Regions from separate parts of the Homo sapiens genome. Here regions 1 and 2 are each linked to region 3. The links are contacts of gene promoters, found by promoter capture Hi-C in human tissues and cell types (Jung and others, 2019). All regions are on one chromosome and are shown on one strand. Each heading gives the region's core, a stretch centred on a gene start or on the middle of the fragment in contact. The rest is flanking DNA. Distances are from core to core; before and after follow the strand shown.

Region 1 (3,617 bases), core at 194-2,693, 34 kb after region 3:
TGGGACCTGCCTGCCTCAGCCTCCCAAGGACCTGGGACTACAGGCACACACAACCACACTTAGCTAATTAAAAACTATTTTAAAAAATTTTTTTTTTAATATTCAGGGTCTCACTTTGCTGCCCAGGCTTATCTTGAACTCCTGAGCTCATGCTGTCCTCCCACCTCGGCCTCCCAAAGTCTTGGGATTACAAGCATGAGCCACCATACCAGGCCAACATACTTTTTCTATAAAGGGCCAGAGAGTAAATATTTTAGGCTTTGAGGGCCACCTATGGCCTCTATTGGAAGCATTCAACTTTGCTGCACTAGCAGAAAGCAGCCACAAACAGCATGTTGATGAATGCACATGGCTGTATTCCAATAAAACTTTATTTACAAAATCAGGAAGTGGGCTGTAGTTTGCTGACCTCTGGTCTGTCTAAAGCAGTGGTTCCCGAAGTGTGGTCTCCACACCAGCAGTAGCAGCATCACCTGGAAACCTGTTAGAAATGCGAATTCTCAAGCCCACACAGCTATACTGAATCAGAAACTCTTGGGCAGGGGCTCAGCAGTCTGTTTTAACAAATCTCTGGGTGATTCTGATGCACGCTGGAGTTTAGCAGGACTACACATAACCACCTAGGGAGCTTTTTAGACTATAGTGATGGGGGAGGGGATCTTCCTGGCCAATTGACACAGTCTCTGGAGGTGGCACCCAAACATCCATCCCAGCTTTTTAAAGTTTTCCCAGTGACCCTAATGTGTAGCCGGGTTTGAGATTCACTGGCTTAGGGTAAGTGCCTCATGCAAACATTAAGTTGAGGAATAGAATCCTCTTCAAAACATCCAAAGAAATCAGCCTCATTTCTTTAGAATGATGCTTCATTTCTAATTTTTTTAAGGTGCTGCTGAGCTTAATCTAGATGAACCATTCAGCTTTCCATGACCTCAAGTTATTTAAAAAAAAATATATATATGTATATATATATGTATATATATATGTATATATATATGTATATATATATGTATATATATATGTATATATATATGTATATATGTGTATATATATGTATATATATGTATATATATATGTATATATATATGTATATATATGTATATATATATATGTATATATATGTATATATATATGTGTATATGGCAGCACCGCACTGCAGCCTGGGTGACAGAGTGAGACCCTGTCTCAAAACAAACAAACAAAAACATATGTGTTTCATTTCAAAGGATGAAGAATTCTGCAACATTTATGTTTTCTTTCAATGTGGGGCAGTTTCTTGAGGTCATTTCAAAAAGACGTCTCAAACATGGTTTTTTTGTTTTGTTTTGTTTTGAGACAGTTTTGCTCTGTCGCCCAGGCTGGAGTGCAGTGGCATGATGTCAGCTCACTGCAATTTCCGCCTCCTGGGTTCAAGCAAGCACCTCCAGCTAATTTTTGTATTTTTAGTGGAGACGGGGTTTTGCCATGTTAGGCAGGCTGCTCTCGAACTCCTGACCTCAAATGATCTGCCTGCCTCGGCCTCCCAAAGTGCTGGGATTACAGGTGTGAGCCACTACACTCAGCTCAAACATGTTTTGAACAGCGGTAACATCCCTTAAAGATCAATAGGCCACATGTAGAGACCGTGTGGCCCTGTGTATGCGCAATCCCTTTCCACCCTCACAGCAGTCTAGGAAGAAGGTTGTGAGATGCTCCCACTTTCCAGAGAAATAGATGGAGGCTCAGGGTGTAAGTACAATGAGCAGAATTGTCCAAAAGAGGCTCTAGGAGCTTAGGCGAAACATCTGGACCACGAACTGTCTGGGACCAGCTTTCCTCCCACCCTGGTGGCTTCCTCCCCTGGGAAGAGGAAGCTGTCACTTCCCATGGGCCCTAAGGTCTCTGGTCACTGGTGCTAACCCACCTGCCCCCACTGACAAGGTTGCCTGCTCACGCTTGCGCTATAAAATGGTGGGATGGTGGGCACAAAGTCCTGGCCCTAGAACTCAGACACACACCACAGACCTGCAGCATCTCTCCAAAGGATGGTGGTTACGGAGAGGGAATTCAAGCTTCTTCCTTTCTTGCCAATGCCTGTCCTACAGGCCTTTTCCTTATTCCCCAACAGAGTCTATTCCTTAACCTATACTGTGGGTTAATGTGGCATGTGTCTGGAATCCTTGTGCAAGACAAGGTGTCAAATCCCAGTGACAGGAGGAGGCCCACCTGGGACCCAGCCTGTGGTCCAGTGGTAGAGCGGGATTTGAATTCGGGTCCTGATGACCTTTTATGAGTGAGTTGCAACTCCTAACCTCAGCTCTTGGCATATGCGGCATCCCAAATTATGCTCTGAAAGAAATGCCACCTGTTTTGATGGGCAAATTCTAGCATGTTTTAAAAATCACCCTATTACTAGAATGGATATGTAAATTGTGGTATAGTGACACTCTGAAACACTATTATCCTCAAAATGTGAATAGAAAAATGACATCTACACACAATGACACAAATTTCACGAAGATAATGCTGAATGAAGGAAGGGGTGTGATCCCATTTACATAAAGGTCAAAAAGAGGCAAAATGAATATATGGCAGGAAAGGTCAGGATGATGGCTGCCCTGGGGGAGGGGGAAGTAACTGACATGGGCTATGAGGGAATTTCTGAGAATGTTTCTGGTTCTTAATCTGAGTACTGGTCACATGGGATCGTTAATTTTGTATAAATTCATGAATTGATGCACCTTTCTGTATGTGTGTTGGACTTCAATAAAAAGTCACCTTAAAAAAAGAACTAATGGGGCCACGCATGGTGGTTCACGCCTGTAATCCCAGCACTGTGGGAGGCTGAGGCAAGGTCATGCCTGTAATCCCAACACTATGGGAGGCTGAGGCAAGAGGATCACTTGAGCCCAGGAGTTCGAGACCAGCCCTGGGAACACAGCAAGACCTTTACAAAAAAGATTTAAAATTAGCTGAATGTAGTGGGGTGCCCCTGGAGTCCCAGCTATTTGGGAAGGATTGCTTAAGTCTGGGAGGTCGAGACTGCAGTGAGCCATGATGGCACCACTGCACTCCAGCCTGGGCAATAGAGTGAGACCCTGTCTCCAAACACACACACACACACACACACACACACACACACACACACACACAAACATGTTTGAGACATCTTTTTGAAATTACCCCGAGAGTCTGCCCCACATTGAAATGGGATTAACATCAGCAACTGACTTTGAAATGTATGATAAAAATATGAGTCGAGAGAGAGAGTTGGATAGATGTGTGATAAAGCAAACAGCAAAATGTTCATTACAGAATCTGATGGGTAGAAATATGGGTGTTCATGGGACAATTCTTTCAATATGTTAAAAAATTTTTAAATAAAATGTTAAACCAAAGCCTTTAAAATAAAAGCAACCAGACACACAACCAACTCAATCATTCTACTTTTATTGCCTTTACTTGCTTCTTTATGCCATGGAAATGTTCATTTCCAGGTGAGGGTATCCAAGGACTGATACCATGAGCTGGGTGACTACTCAGTTCGCAGGCTGGTATGGGGCTGTTGGATCCTAGAGCAAAAAGAGGACTTGGTGAATCTGCTGGGGACAAGGGAGTGAGCAAGACAAGACGACCTGGAT
Region 2 (3,741 bases), core at 91-2,590, 53 kb before region 3:
TTATTTTTTTTTAAAGGTGAGGGCTGAGAGGAGGAGAGATCTGTGTATAGCCTTAGATGGAACTCATCAGGAGTCTTGTCAGTTCAAACCATTTTGTTGTTGGTAGTGGTGTGTCCTCTACTCAAGATTCCAAGTCCCAAGAGTGAGCAACCAACTGTCCTTACTTGGGCCATGTGACCAGGAAAAGACACCATGAAATCCATCTCTAGTTGGGTAAAGAGATTCCCCAGGTCAGGCGTGGTGGCTCACACCAGTAATCCCAGGCCAAGATGGGAGGATCACTTGAGCCCAGGAGTTTGAGCCCAGCCTGGGCAAACGAGCAAGATGCTGTCTTTACAAAAAAATTAAAAAATTAGTCAGGCACAGTGGCACATGCCTGTAGCCCCAGCTACTTGGGAGGCTAAGGCGGGAGGATCACTTGAGCCCAGGAGGTCGAAGCTGCAGTGAACCTTGATCACACCACTGCATTCCAGCCTGGGAAACAGAGTGAGACACTGTCTACAAAAGAAAAAAAGAGAGATTTCCCTAGAGGAAGTCAGAACACCGTACCAGATGAAGGGAGAATTAGAGGTTGTAGGGCCAGCACTACCCAAAGTCCACTAGGAGTAATGGGAAGAGAGCTATTCTAGACGAGGAAAGACAGGAAGAAAGTCACACAAGTTGGAGAGTGAAGGAACATCCAGTTGACCAAGCAAGAGAGGGAGATGAAGCTTGAAAGGTGGGTTGAAGCCAGATTCTAGAGATGTTTGACTACCAGCATGAGAAAATCCCTGTTTTTATCTGGTGGGCCATGGGGAGCTATTGAAGATTTTTGCCTGTTAGGGTAAAGTGATCAGGTCTGATCCAAATATAAAGATTGGTCCAGGCTAGGCATGGTGTCTCATCCTTATAATCCCAACACTTTGAGAGGCCAAAGCAGGAGGATTCTGTGAGGTCAGGAATTCAAGACCAGCCTGGGCAACAGAGCAAGACCCTGTCTCTACAAAAAAATATGCCAGGCATGGTGATGTGTGCCTGTGATTCCAGCTACTCAGGAGGCTGAGATGGGAGGATCATCTGAGCCTGAGAGGTCAAGGCTGCAGTAAGCTATGATTATGCCACTGCACTCCAGCCTGGGTGACAGGAACCCTGTAAAAAAAAAAAAAAAAAAAAAAAGATTGCTCCAAGTTGTGGCATAAGTGTGGGGAAGGCAAGTATCACTCTGGGTCTCAGGGACTCAGATGTCACCAGGCGACTCACTCTTTCTGTCTTCCCAGCCCCTCTCCCTCCTACTGGCTTCTTTCTTCCAGATCCTTATCTTCCTCATGGTAGCTGAGCTCCTCAGTGCAGCTCCTGTCACCTCCTCTCGAGCCACCTGTCTCAGCTTCATCCCCTGCTAAGCACTGAACCTTGTTCCCTTGGATACTAAATTGAAAAATGCAGGAAAGTCCCCTGATTGGCTTAGCTTAGGTCAGGTGACACCTCCAGGCCAATCAATGGGCGTCAAGGGAAAGGCTCTGAAAGAAGGGAGCAGGTCCCTTTTAAGCCATGTGGTTAGTGCAAAGCCAAGGATCATTTCCTGGAGGGAGCCTGCTTGCTGGTTTGTGGAGATAAAGCAGTAGAGGTCTAAGTGTCTACTATTCGCAGGGGCTCCTTGAACACCTACTATGTGCCAATCACTGGGCTAAATGGCTTATCCCATTTTGCCCCTTCAACAACATTTTGAGGTCTTATTATTATCCCCATTTTGCACATGGGCAAACTGAGTCTCAAATAACTTAGAATCACTTGTCTAGGTCAGGTAGCCAGTTTCAATGGCAGAGCAGGGATGCAACCCCAGTCTTTCTGGCACCAGAGCATGAGCTCTTAACCATATTATTCTGCCAAAGATCCAACTTGGGGCCTCATTTTCCCACCCAGGAAGGTATTTGGCAGGGTCACCAGTAGCCATTTTGGTGCCTTTTTTTAAATTAGTAAAACCTCCCCTTCTTCAAGACACTTTACTGCCATCTGCTGAAAATTGCCAAAGTAAGTACAGTACACAAATCTATAATGCAGTGATGTAAACAGTGCCCCTTTAGACTGAGACTCTGGGTCAGTCTAAGGGCCAGTTTTTCACAGTTGGGCAGGTTGTGTACTGTACCAGGGCTAACATGGTGCAGTGCACAACCTGCTCAACTGTGAGCCTTAGCTTTGATACAGGAAGTAGAAGCTGCAGCCAGGAGTTTATTGAATAGCAAAGACTAACACGAATTATCTGGAATCATGAATTCTGTGGCCTCTGGAATAGGGTGATGTTTTGGGATGTCTGGAGCTGATAGGTCTGGGCTGAAAAGGACCAGGTCGATGGAGATGCCAAGCATTTATTTGTTTTGTTTCTTCTCACTCCTATGTCGGGTCTTTGCCTTTTGGTGCTTGGCCACTGGAGTGGGTGGCTCCATAAGATGACTCTTGGATGGTTTCAGGCTCTTCCTGGACACCCAGGACTGGTCCATGAGCTTGGGCTCAGCTGGGAAATCCTCAGGGAGATAGACATCTGTGGCCTCTGAGATTGATAAGGGTAACTGGGGCTCTGGGGCCTGTAGCTGCTCTGGTGGGAGGGGGCAGAGGTCAAGGCAGTAGAAAGATCTAGGCTCAAAAGTGCTGGGCCTAGCCTTCTTGGGGGGCTTCTTGGCCAGATTCCTGAGGGGGTCTTTGGTCTTGTTTAAAGACATCTTGAGTTTTTTGGCCTTGGAAGTCTTGGAGTGCCTGAGAGACTTTTGAGGTTTCTGGGGAAGGCTGGAACACTTTGTCTGGAGTATTCATGCCATAGGTCATTGGAACTCTCCAGCAGGATGGAGAGTAACAGGAAACTGTCTTGGATGTCATGTCTGGGATGCCTGGGGGGAGCCTGTGACAAGCTTGATGGTCTGGGTCCAGGTAAGGGCAGCATTGAGCAGTGCCCAGAGGCAGTGGGCTTACTGGTGGCTGGAGCAGTACCAGAGGTCCTCTGCGAAGGAGGTCACCGCAGTGACCTCACAGGCTGTCCTGTTCCTACATAGCAAGGGCAATTCATGAGACTGGGGTGGGAATTCTAGAGAAAATATCTTAGAAAAAAGGTCTTCTATTATATAATCACATTTTTCATTTAATCATTCATCTACGCATTGATGTATTCACTTGTTTGTTTATTTCATTCAGTCACCCAGCCATCTACCCACTCATCCATTGACTTATTACTTGCATGGTAACCCACACCATTCATTCATTCATTCTACTTCACTCACGCACTCATACCTTCATTCATTAATTCAGCAAATACTTGCGCTGTTGGAGTTGGAGATACCAACACCAAAAATAACAGCAAACATCTACATAGTGTTAAGTGTGTGCCAGCTACTGTTCTAGGTGCTTTAGATTCGACTTAAGCTTTCCAAAAACCTCCTGAAGGTGTTTGTTATGGAATTAATGTTTCTAGTCCCTTCTCAAATTCATATGTTGAAGCCCTAACCCCTAAGGTGATGATATTTGGAGGTGGATCCTTTTGGAGGTAATTAAGTTTAGATGAGGTCATGAGAGTAGGTCTCCTATAAGGGGATTAATGTCTTAATAAGAAGAGAATTCTCTTCTTAATAAGAAGAGAATGAGAGACCAGAGCGTGTGATCATTTTCTCTCTCTCTCTCTCTCCCCCCTCCCTCTCTCTTTCTCTCTCTCTCTCCTCTGTGCCATATGAGGTCACAGCAACAACATAGCCATCTTCAAGTCAGAAAGAAAGGCTTCAT
Region 3 (3,559 bases), core at 407-2,906:
TAGATTTAGATGGGATCCCATCCTTATGATGGGATTAGTGTGCTTATAAGAGGAAGAGACCAGAGCTTTCTCTTACTCTGCCATGTGAGGGTACAGTGAGAAGGCGGCCATCTGCAAGCCAGGAAGAGAGTCCTCACCAGGAATAAAATCTGCTGGCATCCTGATCTTGAACTTCCCAGCCTCCAGAACTGTGAGAAATAAATGTTTGTTGCTTAAGCTCCCCAGTCTGTGATATTCGCAGCCTGAGCTGATGAATACACTCAGAGAGTTTAGGACAGAACTGAAACCCCTTGCCCAAATGAGCTAAGACTATCCCTTATTGTTACCACTAGGGATGCTAGATTAACAAAAAAAAAAAAAAAAAAGAAGGATACCTAGTTAAATTTGATTTCAGGTAAACAAACAGATAATTTTTAGTATAAATACGTCCCATGTAATATTTGGGGCATGCTTACACTAAGAAATAATTTATTAATATTTATTTATTGGTATTTTATCTGACAACCCTATCAACCCTCTGTTTAAAGTCACTCTAACACTATCACAACCCAATAATTTGGCCTTATGAGAATCTCCATCTAGGTATTTCATTATTAGTTTTACTTGAACGGGGATTTAAAAATGATATCTCTGCCACTGCTATGATAAATAAATCCATATATGAACATAAACAAGCCTGGAAAGAACCTGGTAGAGGTGACAGTCAAGACTCTTGGCCACCAAATTATAGGATTCAGAACTCTTCTCATCCAGATGAGGGTCCCCCAGAATCAGTAACCCAGCCTTCCTATTGCAAAGTGGAAGAAGTTGAGCTCATTTGAAGACCCTCACCCTCCATATGGGACACTGGGAGGCCACATGCCCAAGGCTGACAGGTTCTCATCCCTGGGGATGCCCCACAAGGCTGGGGGTTGCTGGGCCAGGCCTCCAGGGAGGCCATTAGAGGGACAAGTCTCCCTCCCTGCGCACCTAACCTCTGGTGGCACTGCAGCAGCTCTGAAAGCTCCCTGGGAAGGCTGTCACAGCCAAGGTGGGGTTGGGGCCCAGATGCCAAATCCCTCACAAAACTACCATGTTCAGATCTTCCTGTAGTGCCAGACACTGTGCAAAGCACTTTCCTCATGTTATCTTATCTGCCTTGCACAGTAGCCCAAAGAGAATGCCATTGCGACCCAACTTTCTAGAAGAAGCTGAGGCTCAGAGAGATCAAGAAACTTCCTCTATGTCACACAGCTTGTAAACTGCAAAACTGGGATTCAAACCCAGGACTTTTTGTGTCTGGGCCTAGAAGAGTGCCCATGACAAAGCTGGTAGGGGGAAAGCTGTCAGGAGACTCGGGTCAGGCCACCCCAACCCCCCAACAGAAGCTGCCAGGCCTCACCGATAGAATAAGTTCCTGAGAGTGTACTCCTCTCCACCTGCTCCCAGCCCTGGTCCCTGCACTTACCTGGACTGATACTGATGTCTGTTTGTGGAAAGGCCTGTGCAGAGTGGAGGGTCAGGAAGGCTGCAGCCCACAGTGTCCACCTTTGCATCCTGAGCTCCTAGAAAGCAACCTCCCAGCCTGAGTGGAGGAGAGAGGCTTTTTGGCTGGAGCTTGGGTCCAGGATTGCTCTCCTAGGGTCAGATGGAGCCTGGCAGGAGCTGGGACAGACTGGATGGACTCCAGTCCCCTCCTCTTTTCTTCCTTTTCTCCTCCCTCCTCTTCACACTGTTGGAGACAGCTCAGAATGACAGCTGAAAGCAAAGCAGCCTAGGCCAGCCCCCCTCAAAGAACCAAGAGACATTTTAGCTCCCAAGCTTGCCTCTGAACCAAGACAAAATTTAGCTCTCAGTCTTGTCTCTGAGTCACGCTGTGGCCTTGGGTGTGCACTTCTCTGAGACTCAGTTTCCCCCTCTGTAAAATGGGATGGTAACGAAACTCACATTCCAGCCTGTCACAGGAGACAAAGCATCTCACCTCCCTCAGAGTAGATATGTACTGGAAGGTAAAATTACTGCAAGTAAGCATTGAGCGCAGAGGTCTCCTGGGCCATGGATGTCATTTGTTTGGTCTGCAGAGTTTTAAATTCTAAAAAATTTGTTAAGGTATAAAACCAAGAGATGCTAGGTATAAGTCCGGATTTCTGCCTTCTATTGGAAAATCGGAAGACCTAACGAAACATAGCCCTCATTTCTACAGGGCAACAATTGCATGGAGCTGAGAAAGAGCATCTCTTTCAGCCAGGCTCTTTGAGCTTCGGTTCACCAAGGTCTCCACCCCATGGGTCTGATCCTGACAGCATCCACCGCTGAGGAAGCACCAGGAAGCCTGTGTGAGTCAGCCTCCTTTCCTCTCCCTTCACCTCTCAGGGTCTCTCAGGGTTCCTCCGGGGGTTAAAGGAGGCATCTGTAGAAGATTCAACAGAGTGTTGCACAGAATAAGTGCTCCACAAAGAGGTGCAAGTGTCATCACTAGTGCATAGCTCTACTGTGTGGCTTGCTCAGAATTCAATGTTTAAAAACCCCTAGTGTTTTCATTGGGATCTCATCGCTCTTTTGGAGAATCAATATTTCTAAAAACCACAGTCTTTCTCCCCCACTTTCTGTGTCCTTAGACAAGTCACTTTGCCTCTCTGAACCTCAGTTGCCTCCTCTGTAAAATGGGGGATAAGTAGAGTACCTACCTCACAAGGATTAAATGAAGTAATTTGTTTCTAAAACTTGGCATAGATGCTGGCAAGTAGTAGGTGCTCAATAAATGACAGCAACATTTGCTATTGTTGTCATTGATCTAGTGCAAGGCTTTCCTTGGCATCACCCACATCCCCTGCCCCTGCACTCCCTTATTCCTCTCCAGAAATGCTCTGCCAGGTGCCCTGACACCTCATGTGGCTGGCACTCACAGGGACTGGAATGTGTCTGTTTGGCTTCCAAGTCTTTCTGGAACACCTGCTGCTGTGCTTGTGAGAAATAACTTAACTTGTGCCCACACAGCTTGCCTTGCCTGCTGGCACTGGAGCTGAAAGTCTGCCAAGGTCTGACTCAGAATATGAGCACAGCTCAGGCTCAGCTTCAACCTACAGGATGCCTCCTCGGGTAGATCTGTTGCCTCAAAACTAGTGTACTGGTGCATATCCCAGAGCATGCACACTTACTTATTTATAAATGGGATATATTTATTACATGTTTATAAGTGATGTGCAGGTACGACTCACTGTACTAATATATTATTTCTGTTATAAAACACACACACCCACATTGGACATTATTAAAGGTTGATAAAAGATATAAATGTGGAAGAAAGTTTGGATATTTTCTCCCTACTCCCTATCATCTTGCAAGCTGAAATTTGGGGGCTCCTGCTGTCATGTTCCTGGGTGCTGCTTGGAATTTAAAAGTGTCTATCTTAGTCTGTTTTGTGCTGCTATACTAGAACACCTGAGACTGGTAATTTATAATGAACAGAATTTATTGGTTCACAGTTCTAGAGACAGGGAAGGCCAAGATCAAGGTGTTGGCATCTGGTGAGGGCTTTCTTGCTGAGTCATCATATGGTGGATAGTGAGAGGGTAAAAGA

Evidence for each region. Contacts are between HindIII fragments. The study calls those that stand out against the background at their distance.
Region 1: a contact is called between a fragment that was not itself captured here and the fragment with the promoter of CLEC19A in region 3, in 1 of the 25 tissues and cell types used here (H1 embryonic stem cells).
Region 2: a fragment that was not itself captured here is called in contact with the fragment with the promoter of CLEC19A in region 3 in 1 of the 25 tissues and cell types used here (H1 embryonic stem cells).

The regions. Positions count from the first base shown.
Region 1 is chr16:19,249,872-19,253,488 of GRCh38, reverse strand. All of the region lies in intron 7 of SYT17 (synaptotagmin 17), which reads right to left. Among named protein-coding and RNA genes, the nearest start is that of CLEC19A, 34 kb to the left of the region's middle. The HindIII fragment of the contact is 4,591 bases long and covers 1-3,617 here.
Region 2 is chr16:19,336,251-19,339,991 of GRCh38, reverse strand. It overlaps LINC02858 (long intergenic non-protein coding RNA 2858), which reads right to left. Exons shown (of 3, transcript XR_950883.3): 3 at 2,193-3,012. Among named protein-coding and RNA genes, the nearest start is that of LINC02858, 3.9 kb to the right of the region's middle. The HindIII fragment of the contact is 5,111 bases long and covers 1-3,741 here.
Region 3 is chr16:19,283,828-19,287,386 of GRCh38, reverse strand. CLEC19A (C-type lectin domain containing 19A) reads right to left here and starts at 1,656. Exons shown (of 5, transcript NM_001256720.2): 1 at 1,448-1,656. The coding sequence starts at 1,535. The HindIII fragment of the contact is 9,003 bases long and covers 1-2,954 here.